Linked DNA regions of Homo sapiens: region 2 is linked to region 1. Evidence: promoter capture Hi-C in 16 types of primary human blood cells and fetal thymus (Javierre and others, 2016). All regions are on one chromosome and are shown on one strand. The core of a region is centred on a gene start or on the middle of the fragment in contact, and the rest is flanking DNA. Distances in the headings are between cores, read along the strand shown. Region 1 holds the start of CD300C (CD300c molecule). Region 2 has its middle 6.2 kb from the start of CD300LF.

Evidence for each region. Contacts are between HindIII fragments. The CHiCAGO score rates a contact against its expected background, and 5 or more counts as called.
Region 2: a contact is called between a fragment that was not itself captured here and the fragment with the promoter of CD300C in region 1, in 1 of 17 cell types (monocytes). The highest score is 6.4, in monocytes.

The regions. Positions count from the first base shown.
Region 1 is chr17:74,543,836-74,551,123 of GRCh38, forward strand. CD300C (CD300c molecule) reads right to left here and starts at 2,280. Exons shown (of 4, transcript NM_006678.5): 1 at 1,887-2,280; 2 at 774-1,112. The coding sequence starts at 1,947. It also overlaps a transcript of LOC107985074 not described here. RefSeq lists an enhancer at 6,978-7,288. The HindIII fragment of the contact is 25,491 bases long and covers 1-7,288 here.
Region 2 is chr17:74,715,951-74,722,366 of GRCh38, forward strand. It overlaps a transcript of RAB37 not described here. Among named protein-coding and RNA genes, the nearest start is that of CD300LF, 6.2 kb to the left of the region's middle. The HindIII fragment of the contact is 5,750 bases long and covers 1,385-6,416 here.

The DNA.
Region 1 (7,288 bases), core at 1,030-3,529:
AGGTCCGTGCCAGTCTCAGCTCATTTCCATCCACAGGTCCCTTTGCCTGAGGGGGCAATTTCTGGGGTTCCCTCCTGTGGTAAAAGGTGCCAGAGAATAAGGGGGACACACAGGTCAGCCTCAGGGGCAGGATGTGGTTCCCAGGAGCATGAGAACCCCACCCAGGGCTCTGGGGCTCCTTCCTGTGTCCTCCAGTGGCTGCTGCAGGAGCTCCCAGGACAGGGCTGTGAGGCTGCGGCCTCAGGACCCTCCAGACAGGGCGGCATCCATGCAGGCCCCAGGGCAGGGGCAGCCTTGAGTGAGAGGAGCCAATGATGGGGGGGTCCAATTCCCCGTGGGGAAGAGCGAGTTAGACCCAGGCGGGACAGTGGGCACCCTTCAGTATGGATCCGGCCCTTGTCAATACAGGGAGGTAGCAAGGACCCCAGAGTCAGGGGTGGCCTCACAGACCCCACCCAGGAAAGTTTCAGGCCTGAGGCCGTGAGGGAGGGCCCACAGCGGGGGGTCTCCAGCCACAGGGCCAGGGTGCTTTTGTGGGCGCCCACCCTCCCAACACACACATGCAGGTGCACACACACACAAACCACACCACAACTCCTATGCAGGCACGCATACACAAAGACGCACTCACACTCATCCACACACAGCGGCACACAGTGTCCTGACTCACCAACCCCCAGGCTCACACCCTCCTGTTCCACTTCTTTCTTCAGGGACAGAATGACCAGCCCTAGGCTCAGGCAGGCCTGGTGCTGAGAAAAGGAGGGGCTCACCCGGGAACACGGACACCTCAACCTCGACAATGGGATCATGAAAGTCTCGGAGCCACGGTGTATCCACCCCACACCAGTAGGTGCCTGCGTCCTCCTCTGTGAGATTCTCCAGGGTCACTGTGAAGCTGAGGTTTGCAGGACTGTCCCTGATGGACACTCGGCCATTCCTTTTCCCTGCTGACCCTTTGGTCTCCACAATCTTGTCACATCGGAGAATCTGTGGTGGTCTGCACCAGAATTTGTTGAGGGTCCTGTGTTCCTTCTCATAGCGACACTGCACACTCAGGGATCCCCCCACGGGGCCCGCCACGGTCATGGGGTGGCTCAGAGGAAAATAGCCTGAAAAATACAAGCCAAAATCCTGTCTCCTTACCAGAGGGGCCTGGTCAGGGGTGCCGCAGTGTCAGCCCCTCATGGACCCTGGGCGTGTGGAGAAGGCAATGGCAGGCAGGCAGCCTTTGTCCACCCAGGAACAGGGACTGAGGGTGGGAGGCTCCCTCTGTGCAGAGGTGGGAAGGGCATGGGAAGTTTCCATGGAGACTGGAAAGGCAAGGCTAGGGAAACACTGGGTGTGTGCGGGCCTGTGTGTGCATGTGAGTGTGACTCTGTGTGTGTGACTGTGTGAGTGTGACTGTCTGTGTGAGTGTGACTGTGTGTGACTGTGTGTGCATGTGTGACTGTGTGTGCATGTGAGTGTGACTGTGTGTGCATGTGTGACTGTGTGCATGTGTGTGTGAGACTGTGTGAGTGTGACTGTGTGTGCATGTGTGTGAGACTGTGTGAGTGTGACCGTGTGTGCGTGTGAGTGTGACTGTGTGTGTGATCGTCCCAGATAAAATTTGTGATTGGATAACTTTGGCAATGACAGTCACAGCATCACCTCCCACCAGGGCTTCCTGTCTCGGGCACAGAGGAATAGGCCTCCCCCGTGCTGTGCCCTGCCGCCTGCTGTCCCCTGGTGAGGCAGCTGCTGACCGCTCCTGGGTGCTCCTTTGCCCTCCTCCCCTCTCCCTGCCCCACTCCCCTCTATGACCGCTACTCCAGCGCCTGCACCCCTCCCTGCCCTCTCCCACTCAGGACAGAGCTCCCCAAGTCCAGGGTCGGCCCACTCACCTGGGACAAGCAGGAGGAGCAGAGCTGAAGACCGCCACGAGGCCCAGGCCCTGGCAGTCATTCCTGTAACACGAATGTCACCTGCCACTGTGCAAGACCCCAGGAGGGGACAAAATGTAATCTCCTCCCAGCAGATCTGAGCTTCGCTTCTGCTTTTCTTCTGCTCTCTGCTTCCTTGTCCAGCCCTGTCTCAGGTCTGAGGCTGGAGAGGGTCAGGGTACAGGAAGCTCAGGGAGAGAGCCGCCTGGGCTGAGGCCGGTGCTGACAGCTCTGGGATGGTGCTAGTGGCTCCTCTCAACCCTGACGTCTGGCAAAGTCCAGGGTCCCTTGGGTGGCGATGCAGCCACTTCCCCACAGCCCACAGCTTCTGGCTTCAGTGTGTTACTCACACTGCAGAAGGCAGAGCCAAGCTGGGCCATTTCCTACCACATGGGCTGCTCCACCCTCTGTGACATGTCACTTCCTGGTCAGGATGGACAATCTTGTGGTTGGAGGCTAAATCTGCCACCTTCTTTAGCCTTGGAGGTGACCAGAGAGAGGTTGTGTCCCTTAATCTTCAGCTAGGTCCCCGCAGAGACCTCTGCCCCTAAGACCCCCAGCTCTTCTTCTGGCCTCAGAAGTTAGCGCTATGAACCCAGACACCATCTGCATGTCCCTTTTTGGTGCTGAGTCCCCAACCAGGTTAAAATCCCACAGGCTTGGGGAGTTTTCCTCTTGTGCCCCTGCCCCCAGACCTACACACACAGCGGCATCACCCACCCGAGACCCTCCTTTTCCATCTTGTCTTCTTGCCAAAATCCATGCCCCAGTGGGAATCAGGGCAGAGAACTGAGAATAGAGAGAGAGTTCAGACATGTGAAGATGCTGAAGTGGGACTTTGTGGAGGATGTGAGGCTGCGACTGAGCCAGCACACACCCCAGGGCACACGGAGGGGTGTTTGGTGACTGAGAGGACAGTTTGTCATGAGCAGCGGCTGCTGGTGTCTATCCTGGGTCCACTGTGATGGCCAGGGGCCTCCGCAGGGAGCAGACATGGCAGACAGGCCTTCCCAGGAGGCGGGAACCCAGGTCTATCCACACTCGGCATGGCTGGTTCTCCTGACGTGATGGGCTCAGGGTGTCTTTACCCTGGAAAGGGCAAGGAGGCTAGTCAGACACAGGATTTACCTCCTGTCTGTCCTGGAGGGCATCACCCCTTCTCCACCTTCTCATGCCTTAAGCATATTCCTTGACTCTCCCAACCCTCCTACAGATTTCTGTTCCTTTCTTCCTATCAGAGTCAATAGCACCAGTATGTGCACACAGCCATGAGGTTGAGTGGAGAGTGATGGGAGTCTGGGCAAACCTGGCACCATGAAGGGGTCTCTGCACCCTCGACCTGCCCTGTCCTCCCTCCATTTACACTCTCAGGGACACAGCATGCACTGGGGTCATTGGTGTTGATGCCCCCAGACTCACATCATGGGACTATCTCTAGCCCAGTGCAATCCCAGGGCCTCCAATTAGCCCAGTGCTCAGGTCTGGCCTGGGCCTGGCTTTGAAGTATCCCGGCTCTTTCATGGGCTGACCTGGTCTCCCCTTCTGCTCATACCCACCCCTTTCATTCTCCACAGAATCAGCAATGTGATCCCTGACACACACACATGGCCCTGGGGAGGCGCTGCTGAACTCCCAATGGCTCCTGCTGTCACAGGATGGCACCCACCTGACCTGGCCTCTGCACACAGGTCCTGGCAGGCCCCAGCACCTGGTAGGTGTCTCCAGCCTCCTGGATCCAGGTTCACACTGGTGCTGCCACCCTCCCCACTCGGGCCTTTGTCCAGACCCTCAACCTCCCACTCCTCTGCCTGGCTCCAGCCGACAGGGTTGCCTGCGTGTTCCTTGACCTTCCCGGGTTATGGTGGCTCGCTTTTTAGGGGTCCTCATGACCCATTTCACACTTCCCTCTCGTCTTCCTCAGTCTTTCTGTTGGCGAGTCAATGTCTGCTCCCATCTAGGGTGGCCGCCCCTTGAGAGCAGGTGCAGCCTCTTGTCTCATTCACAGCTGTGCCCGTTATCATTCCAGAGTCTGCCAAGTGCAGTTTAACAAACTGGCTGTTGAAAGGATGAATGGGTGAATGGATACATGACATCCTGATGTCCCACTGCCTCAGAGGACTTAGTCATCCAAAGTTGGTGCACCATTTCCTGCCCAGGCTGGGGAGGAGACAGGAAATGCTGTCTGGAGGCCCTGAAGCCACCTGACCCAGGGAGGCATCTGCCCCTGGCAGGACATGTGCACCTGCTCCTCTCTCTGCCTCAGGGCTCCTCCTCCAGGGATCCTGGCGCTCACCCCCTCCTTTCTCCTGATCCCTGCTTGCTCAGCGCCTATTAGAGGGGCTTCACCACAGTCCCCCTCAGCTCCTGCACAGCAGTCACCCCACTTCTCTTATTTCATTCCGTGACTCTTTTCATCTCTGACTTTTATATTTCTTCTGGAATTTATGCACGTATTTTTGCATCTGTTTATCATTTCTATCCCCCGCCTGGAATATGAGCTCAATGAAAACAGAGCTCCTTGCCTGGGTGTTCACGGCTGGACTCCAATGCCAGGTCAGTGTCTGATACACCAGAAGCTCCCATAAGTATCTGCTGAATGTAAAAATAGGTGAGGACCCCCAGGCGTGTCCCTCCTTGACCTGGTGGACTCATGGGGATCATCTGCCTCACAGGGGTCTTGGGTGTGGCATCCCTGGAACCGAAACGATGGTCAGCTGATAACGTCTTCCTTTGTCTGGATAAGCAGACATGGTCTGCACTAGTAAGCAAAAGACTCAGTTAACTACCACATTAAGAAGTCACGGCCCTCAACCAATTTCCATATTTGAGTCAGTTAAAAGCCACAGCCCTGGAATGAAGGGGAGGTCAGGTCCCCTTGAGGAAGGAGGAAGGAAAGGCCTGGCTACCATGCCACAACTCACACTGATAATCTTCTACCAGCCCTCCCGCAGGGACCAGAAGACACTGGCCAGGATGTGTCTACATAAGGAACGGAATTGTCAGGTTTTGGGGGGAATCCTGGATCCTCTTCTGCAGGGACCCCAGTCCTGAGAGGCCCAGCCTGGGGCTTAGTCCACTATTCTGAGCAAAGGCCTGTGGAGATCAGGGAACAATGGAGTTTTCACCCAGGTCTGACTTAGTGGGCATGATAGGTCCAGAATCTATGTATTGTCATTTCTTAAAGTTCGAAAGCATCATTGAATTGACACACTCAGCAAATGGAAGCAGCCACATATTCTGCACTCCTGGACCCGGGGAGTGTGGGCCATTATGGTGGCAAAGGTGCAGGGGAGTCCTGGACCTGCTCCTCCCTGTGAAAACGTTGAAGGAAGCAATGCCAAGCTCCTGGAGAAATGGAAAGGTGCAGAGAGGGCATCAGGCACTTAGAGGTGTTGGTGACAGCTCGAGGTTCAGCTGGCCAGGGCGTGCACATGAGACATGGAGTCACAGCTCAGGGCGTCTGTGTCCATCAGGTTCACGTGTGATTCATGGATCAGGCACAGGGAAAAGGCTGAAGGAGGCTCACAGAGAATTCCAGGAGATGTGGAGAGAGCAGCCCGGGAGGGAGTGGTCAGGAGGTCATTCCAGTCCCGCAAAGGGGTTCTGTCGCAGTGCAGGGCCTTGATGGACAGTAGATGCTACTGGTTCTCACCCTCTGGCCAACTCTGCCTGCTTCCAGAGCTTCTCTGAGGTCCGTTCACCCAGACGACGGCACCCAGCATGCTCAGGAGCAGGGGCAGCTCCAGGACCAGGAGCAGGACGTAGGGGCTGCTGAACAGGGAGCTGTGGGGACACGGTGATGGCAGTGAGTCATCTCCCCAGGGGAAGCCCAGGTGCCCTCCACCTTCTGCCTGTCTGTGAACCCAGGTCCTGTGGCCACACAAATCCCTGTGAGGACAAACTCTGTATATGACAACTCCTCTAAAGAGATCATTAGACCCTGACCTTCAGCCTGAGAGTCCCTGGAGTCTCAGGACTGCCTATAAGGAAGCACGTGGCCGTGAAAATGGTGCATGAGGACAGGGAGGGATCCAGGTGAGAACCACACCCACAAGATCTCTACATCCCGGGGTTATTCACTGGCGCATGGAATCAGTCATGTAGTTTGATGCCTGTATGGCCATCATTTCCCGAGAAGGTGAGGACTATTCATGTTATTCACAAGTAACTGGTACCTGCCCTCTGGTTGCAAATATCAGCCTGTAAAATTCATGGTTGTTGAAGGAATGGAAGGAATGAATGAATGGCCCAGCTCAGCTCTCAGCTCCTCAGAGGACTGGGCTCATCAAACAGGATGAGACTCGGGCCAGGGCTGCAAGGGAGGCCAGGGGAGAGGGCCGGGGTCACCGGGCACCAAAACATCTGCCCCCTGCCCTGGCCTGGCCGGGTCCCAGGACTCCCTTGCAGGACATTTGCCTCACTCCTCCCTCTGCCTGGACCCCTCTTCCCCCAGACCCCAGAGCGCCCTGCTCCCAAATCCTGCAGGTCTCCACGCTCATGTCCTCTAATCCACAAACCCTCTTCTGATCATTGTCAGTGAAATAGCGACTCCAACACCCACACACATGCTCCCCAAACCCAAGGCACAAATATCTCTTCCCAGCAGTCATCAAACTTCGCTGTATTTGTCTGTCAGCCACTGTGCTGACCTGTTCACTGTGTGAATCCACCTGGTAGAACCCAAACTCCACCAGAGCAGGACTGTGGCTGAGTGGTTCCCTGCTGTGACCCTATCCTGACAGGAGCACCTGGCACTTAGTAGGACCTTCACATTAGGTGTGGGAGGCGTGAGCAAAGAAGGGACCAGAAGAAGAGAGACACAACCATCCCATCTCTCCCCAGCCTACAGGAAAGGCTGCCCAGGTGGCAGTCCTGGGGGCACGAACCTTACCCTGGGTGTGGGCTGGGATCAGGGCTGTCCTGTCTGGTAGAGCTGGGCCAGGTGCACGCTGGGACGTAACGGGAGGACCCGAGGTGCCCGTGGAGCTCTGAGACTGGAGGCCGCTGTCAGGGCTGCAGGGGCATCACAGGTCAGTCTCGGCGACCTCGCCTGAGTCTCCCACTCATCATCACCTGTTCAGCTCTGATTTCCACAGACACGATCACTCAGTACATGCTGGACAGATGCCCTGAGTCCAACACGTTCCACGGCCACACGCAGGCCGGACCAGGGCCCTGGGCCCCTCCCTAGTCTTATCCCCAAGTACTTCATAGCCAGATGAGCACTTTCAGAGGCAAGAGTCAACCTGCTCTCTAGGGGAACGTGAGAGTCTGTGGAAAGAAGACCTGGCTGCAGACCCCATCCCAGCCAAGGAGGGAGGGGTGACATTCACTCTGTGAAGCGTGACCTAGAGTGACTGCGG
Region 2 (6,416 bases), core at 3,010-5,509, 170 kb after region 1:
ACCCGGGAGGCAGAGGTTGCAGTAAGCCGAGGTCACAACACTGCACTCCTCCAGCCTGGGTAACTGAGCAACACACTGTCTCAAAAAGAAAAAGCAGAGAATTCGCCAAGTGGTTCTGAGTAGCTGCTCCTCTAACCAAGTGCCTATGGGGAATACAGGGGAATCGGCTCTTCTGCAGGCCTTGCGTCCTCAAAAACTCATTTGAACCTGTAATCCTGGTTTGACCATTGACCTATACACAAGCCAGTTATATCCCTGGGCTTCCCTGTCCCCATATGTGAAAGCAGGGATTAGACAGGTCATCTGAGATTCTCCCTGCTCTAACGCACCTATGTATGTATGTATGTGTGTGTGTGCATGTATGTACGTGAATGGTTGAACCTGTCATTCTGCCCTGGCCTTGTGTGCTCTGCTAGGGGACTCTGTCTAGCACCTAAGAACCAGTCTCTGTTTTTATAAATCATAATTCTTCTCAGAAACCATTCCTGAGCCCTTTTAGTTCCCCTCACTTCCAATTGCACTTTATCTTTCCCAACCACTTGTGCTATGTTTCATATTTTCCATCATTATTACATTGAATCCTCACTATAAATCTAGAGGAAAGGTGATGCGTTTCTCATTTTTCAAAGAAATTGAGACGCAGAGAGCAAGTGACGTGTCCAAGGTCACATAGCTAGTAAGTGGCAGAGCCAAGATTCAAACCCAGGCCTGGTTCATATAAGCCATGCTGCCTTGTGTCAGGGTCAGGGAGGGGGCAGAGAAAGAGAGAGAGAGAGAGAGAGAGAAAACAGCCCTTAGATCCTGCTCAGTGCTGACAATGAAGAATTGATAAAGCAGAGAATCCCGGAGCTGGTTGTCACCAGGGCGTCCACTCCAAGGTTGTTTTTTAAACAAATTTCCTGGCCGGGTGCAGTGGCTCACGCCTGTAATCCCAGCCCTTTGGGAGGGCAAGGTAGGCGGATCACCTGAGGTCAGGAGTTCAAGACCAGCCTGACCAACATGGTGAAACCCTGTCTCTACTAAAAATACAAAAAATTAGCTTGGCATGGTGATAGGTACCTGTAGTCCCAGCTGCTCAGGAGGCTGAGGCAGGAGAATCACTTGAACCTGGGAGGCAGAGGTTGCAGTGAGCTGAGATCGCACCATTGCATTCCAGCCTGGGCAACGAGAGCGAAACTCTGTCTCAAAAATAAAATAAAATGAAATAAAACAAATTTCAGAATGAAAGAATGTTTTATCATGCACTGAAAACTGACTTATTAAGCAGGTAACTGATACCACCAGCCTTGAACATTTTCCAGATCTCATGCCCCTCTTCTGCAGTGTATGGAATGGGAATCTGGGCCTTACCCAAGTTCTTGTCCAGGAATTCAGGCACAGGCAAAGCTTATTTCTGAGAAAAATAGGCGTCTCCAAAGAGTGAGTCTGAAAGTTTGTGTCTCTCGAATTTCATACGTTGAAACTTAACCTTCAATGTGATGGCATTACGAGGTTGAGCCTTTGGAGAGTAACTAGGTCAGGAGAGTAACTAGGTCTCCTGAATGGGATTAGTGCCCTTATAAGAAAGGCCCCAGAGGGCTGGGCGCGGTGGCTCATGCCTGTAACCCCAGCACTTAGGGAGGCCGAGGCAGGCAGATCACCTGAGGTCGGGAGGGAGTTCAAGACCAGCCTAACCAACATAGAGAAACCCCGTCTCTACTGAAAATACGAAATTAGCCAGATGTGGTGCATGCCTGTAATCCCAGCTACTCAGGAGGCTGAGGCAGAAGAATTGCTTGAACCTGGGAGGCAGAGGTTGTGGTGAGCCAAGATCGTACCATTGCACTCCAGCCTGGGCAGCAAGAGCGAAACTCCATCTAAAAAAAAAAAAAAAAAAACAGAAAAGAAAAAGAAAGGTGCCAGAGAGCTGCCTTGCCCCTTCTACCATGTGAGGACACAGCAAGAAGGAGTCCTCCCTGAGGAGTGGGTCCTCACCAGATCCTGAGCCTACCAGTGCCTTGACCTTGGACTCTCCAGGCTCCAAAACTGTGAGAAATACATTTCTGTTTATAAACCACACAATCAGCAGGGCATAGTGGCCCACACCTGTAATCCCAGCACTTTGGGAGGCCAAGGCAGGCAGATCCCTTGAGATCAGGAGCTCCAGACCAGCCTGGCCAACATGGTGAAACTCCGTCTCTACCAAAAGATACAATTAGCTGGGCATGGTGGCACGACCCTGTAGTCCCAGCTACTTCGGAGGCTGAGGCAGGGGAATCACCTGAGCCCAGGAGACGGAGGTTGCAGTGAGCCAAGATCGTGCCATTGCACTCCAGCCTAGGTGACAGAGTGAGACACTGTCTCTAAAACATCATATCATATCATACATCATATCATATCATATCATATCATATCATATCATATCATATCATATCCACCCAGTCTATGGTATTTTGTTATAGCAGCCGGGACTAAGATAGTGGGTTAGAGAAAAAAAAAGGGCTCTTTGATTTTCAGAATAGAGCACCTGTCATCTTTGCTACCTGCTCCTTGACAAAGTGGAAGAGCTGCAATTGAGGCTCCCCCTGCCTAGAAAATTTGATCTTGTTTTTAAGCACCTATTAATTGGCTAGATGTATTTGGAAAAAAAAACAAGCGTTTGTTCAGCAACAGGTAGGCTAAACTTGGGCATCCCCTTAGCTTTCATCAGATTCCCCAGTGCAATGCACCTCCTCAACACACACACAGACTTTTTCCCACTACAAAAGTAATGTGTGTTTGTTAGAGAAAAACAGTGAAATACAGATGAACACAAAGAATGCATCTTAAGTCACTCCGAATCCTGCCACACAGAAATAACTGCTGTTAAATATATGTGTGTGTATCTATTACCAATCTTTTGTTCTTCTGTAGAAAAGCAATTTATTTCAGGTTACATGAAGGATCACTCATGTATGAGTTTGCTTTACCAACTGGACTACTACCTTTATTAGGGCATTTTAATACAGGAAAAACATAAAAAGTATGGCAGTGGAGGGTGTTGATAATGGGGAAGGTTATACATCTGTGGGGGAAAAGGGTCTGTGGAAAAATCCCTGTATCTTCTGCCCAGTGTTAATGTGAACCTAGAAATTCTCTAAAAATTAAATCCTATTTTATAAAAAAGAGAGACATGGCCGAAAATACCAGCTCTGAAATACCTCCAGTTAATACTTTCTTTAAAAAGGTAAAATGCAGGCCAAGTTTGGTGGCTCACACCTTTAATCTCAGCACTTTGGGAGGCCAAGATGGGTGGATTACTTGAGCCCAGGAGATCGAGACCAGCCTGGGAAACATGGTGAAACCCCAACTCTGCAAAAAATACAAAAAAATTAGCTGGGCACAGTGGCATGTGCCTGTAGTCCCAGTTACTTGGGAGGCTGAAGTGGGAGGATCACCCGAGCCCAGAGAGGTCGAGGCTGCAGTGACTCGTCATCATGAGCCACAGCACTCCAGACTGGGCAACACAGCAAGAACTCATCTCAAAAAAATAAATAAATAAAATAAAATAATTTGCTCACAATTACCTTTCTTTTTCTTTTCCTTTTTTTTCTTTTGAGATGGGTTCTCACTGTGTCACCAAGGCTAGAGTACAGTGGTGCAATTATAGCTCAATGCAGCTGTAATTCTGGAAAATCTCCTGGACTCAAGTAATCCTCCTGCCTCAGCCTCCCCAATAGCTGGGAATACAGGCATGCACCACCAAGCCCAGCTTATTGTTTTATTTATTGTAGAATAGGGTCTTCCTATGTTTTCAAGCTGGTCTCGAACTCCTGGGCTCAAGTGATCCTCCTGCCTTTGGCCTCCCCAAGCACTGGAATTACAAGTGTGAGCCACTGTACCTGGCCAAGCAAATTATTTAAATAAATTTTTTAAAACATAGAAAAAGATTAAATGAAAAGTAAAAGTCTTATCTCCATTTCCCACCTACCAGCCCCAGAACCTCAAAGGCAATCCTCTTGGCCTCTATTGCCTCCCTGAGAAAAGTTAATCATACTCCAGCAGATAAACCTAAGTAACATATACACATTCATCATACTATATACATCACTCTGCCCCCTGCTTCTTTTGCTTAATAATGAACTTTCTCCCAAACAGTGAGACAGGAGAGTTCCTTTGACCCTTTTGCAGGTAGGAACTGGAGGGCACCAGCTCTGGGTCCAGTCGGCCATTTAGGCACCAGCAGGGACGAACTTTACTTGCTCGAACCCACTGGGTTCAGCCCCTCGTGAGAGGGAGCACACAGGCAAGTGGGTGCTAGGGCTGGGACGAGTACTTTTGGGCTCTGGCCCCACGGCAGCATGAAGGGGTGTGTTACAATTAAGGTTCTTTTAGGCCAGGCATGGTGGCTCACGACTGTAATGCCAGCACTTTGGGAGGCCGAGGTGGGTGGATCACCTGAGGCCAGGAGTTCAAGACCAACGTGGCCAACATGGCGAAACCCCATCTCTACTGAAAAAAAAAACCCAAAATTTGGCAGGGTGTGGTGGCGGGTGCCTATAATCCCAGCTACTTGGGAGGCTGAGGCAGGAGAATTGCTTGAACCCAGGAGGTGGAGGTTGCAGTGAGCCAAGATCCCACCATTACACTCCAGCCTGTGTGACAGACTGAGCCTCTGTCTCAAAAAAATAAAAGAAAAGAAAAACACAATTAATGCTCTTTTAGCAGTTGCCATCCACAGATGGCTAAGTGTTAGCCAGCTCAGCGGAGAGTCAAGGTGACAGCCTTTTTACACCCTGCCCTCTTGGTACAGAGTTAAGTGTTAACCAGCTCAGTGGAGAGCCAGGGTGACAGCCTTTTACACCCTGCTCTCTTGGTACCCGGGTTCTTGTCAGGTGTCCAGGAAGAATCAGGTCACATAGACTTGAAGGATGATGAATGCGGAGATTTTATTAAGCGGTGGAAGTGGCTCTCAGTGGAAGGGGAGCTGGAAAAGGGATGGTGTGGGAAGAAGGTGATCTTTCCCTGAAGCCTGGCTGGAGATAACCGGGCTCCTCTCTGAAGCCGTGCCATCTGAAGTTAAGCCGTGTCTATCCGTATGCTCCGATGCTCAGTTGCTTCCACTCTTGACGTTCAGCTGCTTGTCTCTTCTCTCCTTCTCAGCTACACCACTCTGCTCGTCTGCCAAGAGCTTTTTATGGGTACAGGGCTGGGGACATGGTGGGCCAGGGTGGTTTTGGAAAAGGCAACATTCAGGCAGGAAAACAGGAATGCATGTTCTCATTTAGGGCCGCAGGTCCAGGCTTGAGGGTGGAGCCATCGCCAGGACCTCGCCCTCTTTTACCCAGTATTTCCCTGCTGCAACAGGGACATACAGTACATACAGATCTTCCTCATCCTTTTACTGTTTTCACAGTACTGCATTGTATGTATATTCTAGAGTTTACTTCACTAGTCTCTACTGCTGAATTATTTGTTCTTACAAACACTACAATGAGCATCCTTATACACATATCTTGGTTTACTTTTTTTTTTTTTTTTTGAGATGGAGTCTTGTTCTGTCACCCAGGCTGTAGTGTAATGGTGTGATCTTGGCTGACTGTAACCTCCACCTCCCAGGTTCAAGTGATTCTCCTGCCTCAGCTTCCCGAGTAGCTGGCATTACAGGTGCACGTCACCATGCCCTGCTAATTTTTGTATTTTCAGTAGAGACAGGGTTTCCCTATGTTGGTCAGGCTGGTCTCAAACTCCCAACCTCAGGTGATCCGCCTCGGCCTCCCAAAGTGCTGGGATTACAGGCATGAGCCACCACGCCTGGTCCTCTTGGTTTATTTTTGCAAGGAAAGCCATAGAGTTGCTGAGTCAAAGGAATTTGCACTTGAAACCTTGATAGATATTGTCAGTTGCTATCCAAAATGGTTGCTCAATGTATACTCCCACTAATAGTGTATGTATGAGTGCCTGTTTCCCCAAATCTAAGCCAGTACTGACCATTACCAAACTTTTATCAAGCCGCTATACATTATATTGTCATTGTATCGGTTAGGGTTCTCCAGAGAAACAGAAACGGTAAGCTATATATATGGAAAGAAAGAGAGATTTGTCAGCCAGGCACAGTGGCTCACGCCTGTAATCCCAGCACTTTGGGAGGCTGAGGACGGTGGATCACGAGGTCAGGAGATCGAGACCACAGTGAAACCCCATCTCTACCAAAAATACAAAAAATTAGCCGGGCGTGGTGGCGGGCGCCTGTAGTCCCAGATACTTGGGAGGCTGAGGCAGGAGAATGGCGTGAACCCGGGAGGCAGAGCTTGCAGTGAGTCAAGATCGTGCCCCTGCACCCTGGCCTGGGCGACAGAGCGAGACTCTGTCTCAAAAAAAAAAAAAAAAAGAAAGAGAGAGAGATTTGTCCGAGAAATTGGCTTACATGACTGGGGGCTGGCAAGTCCAAACTCTGT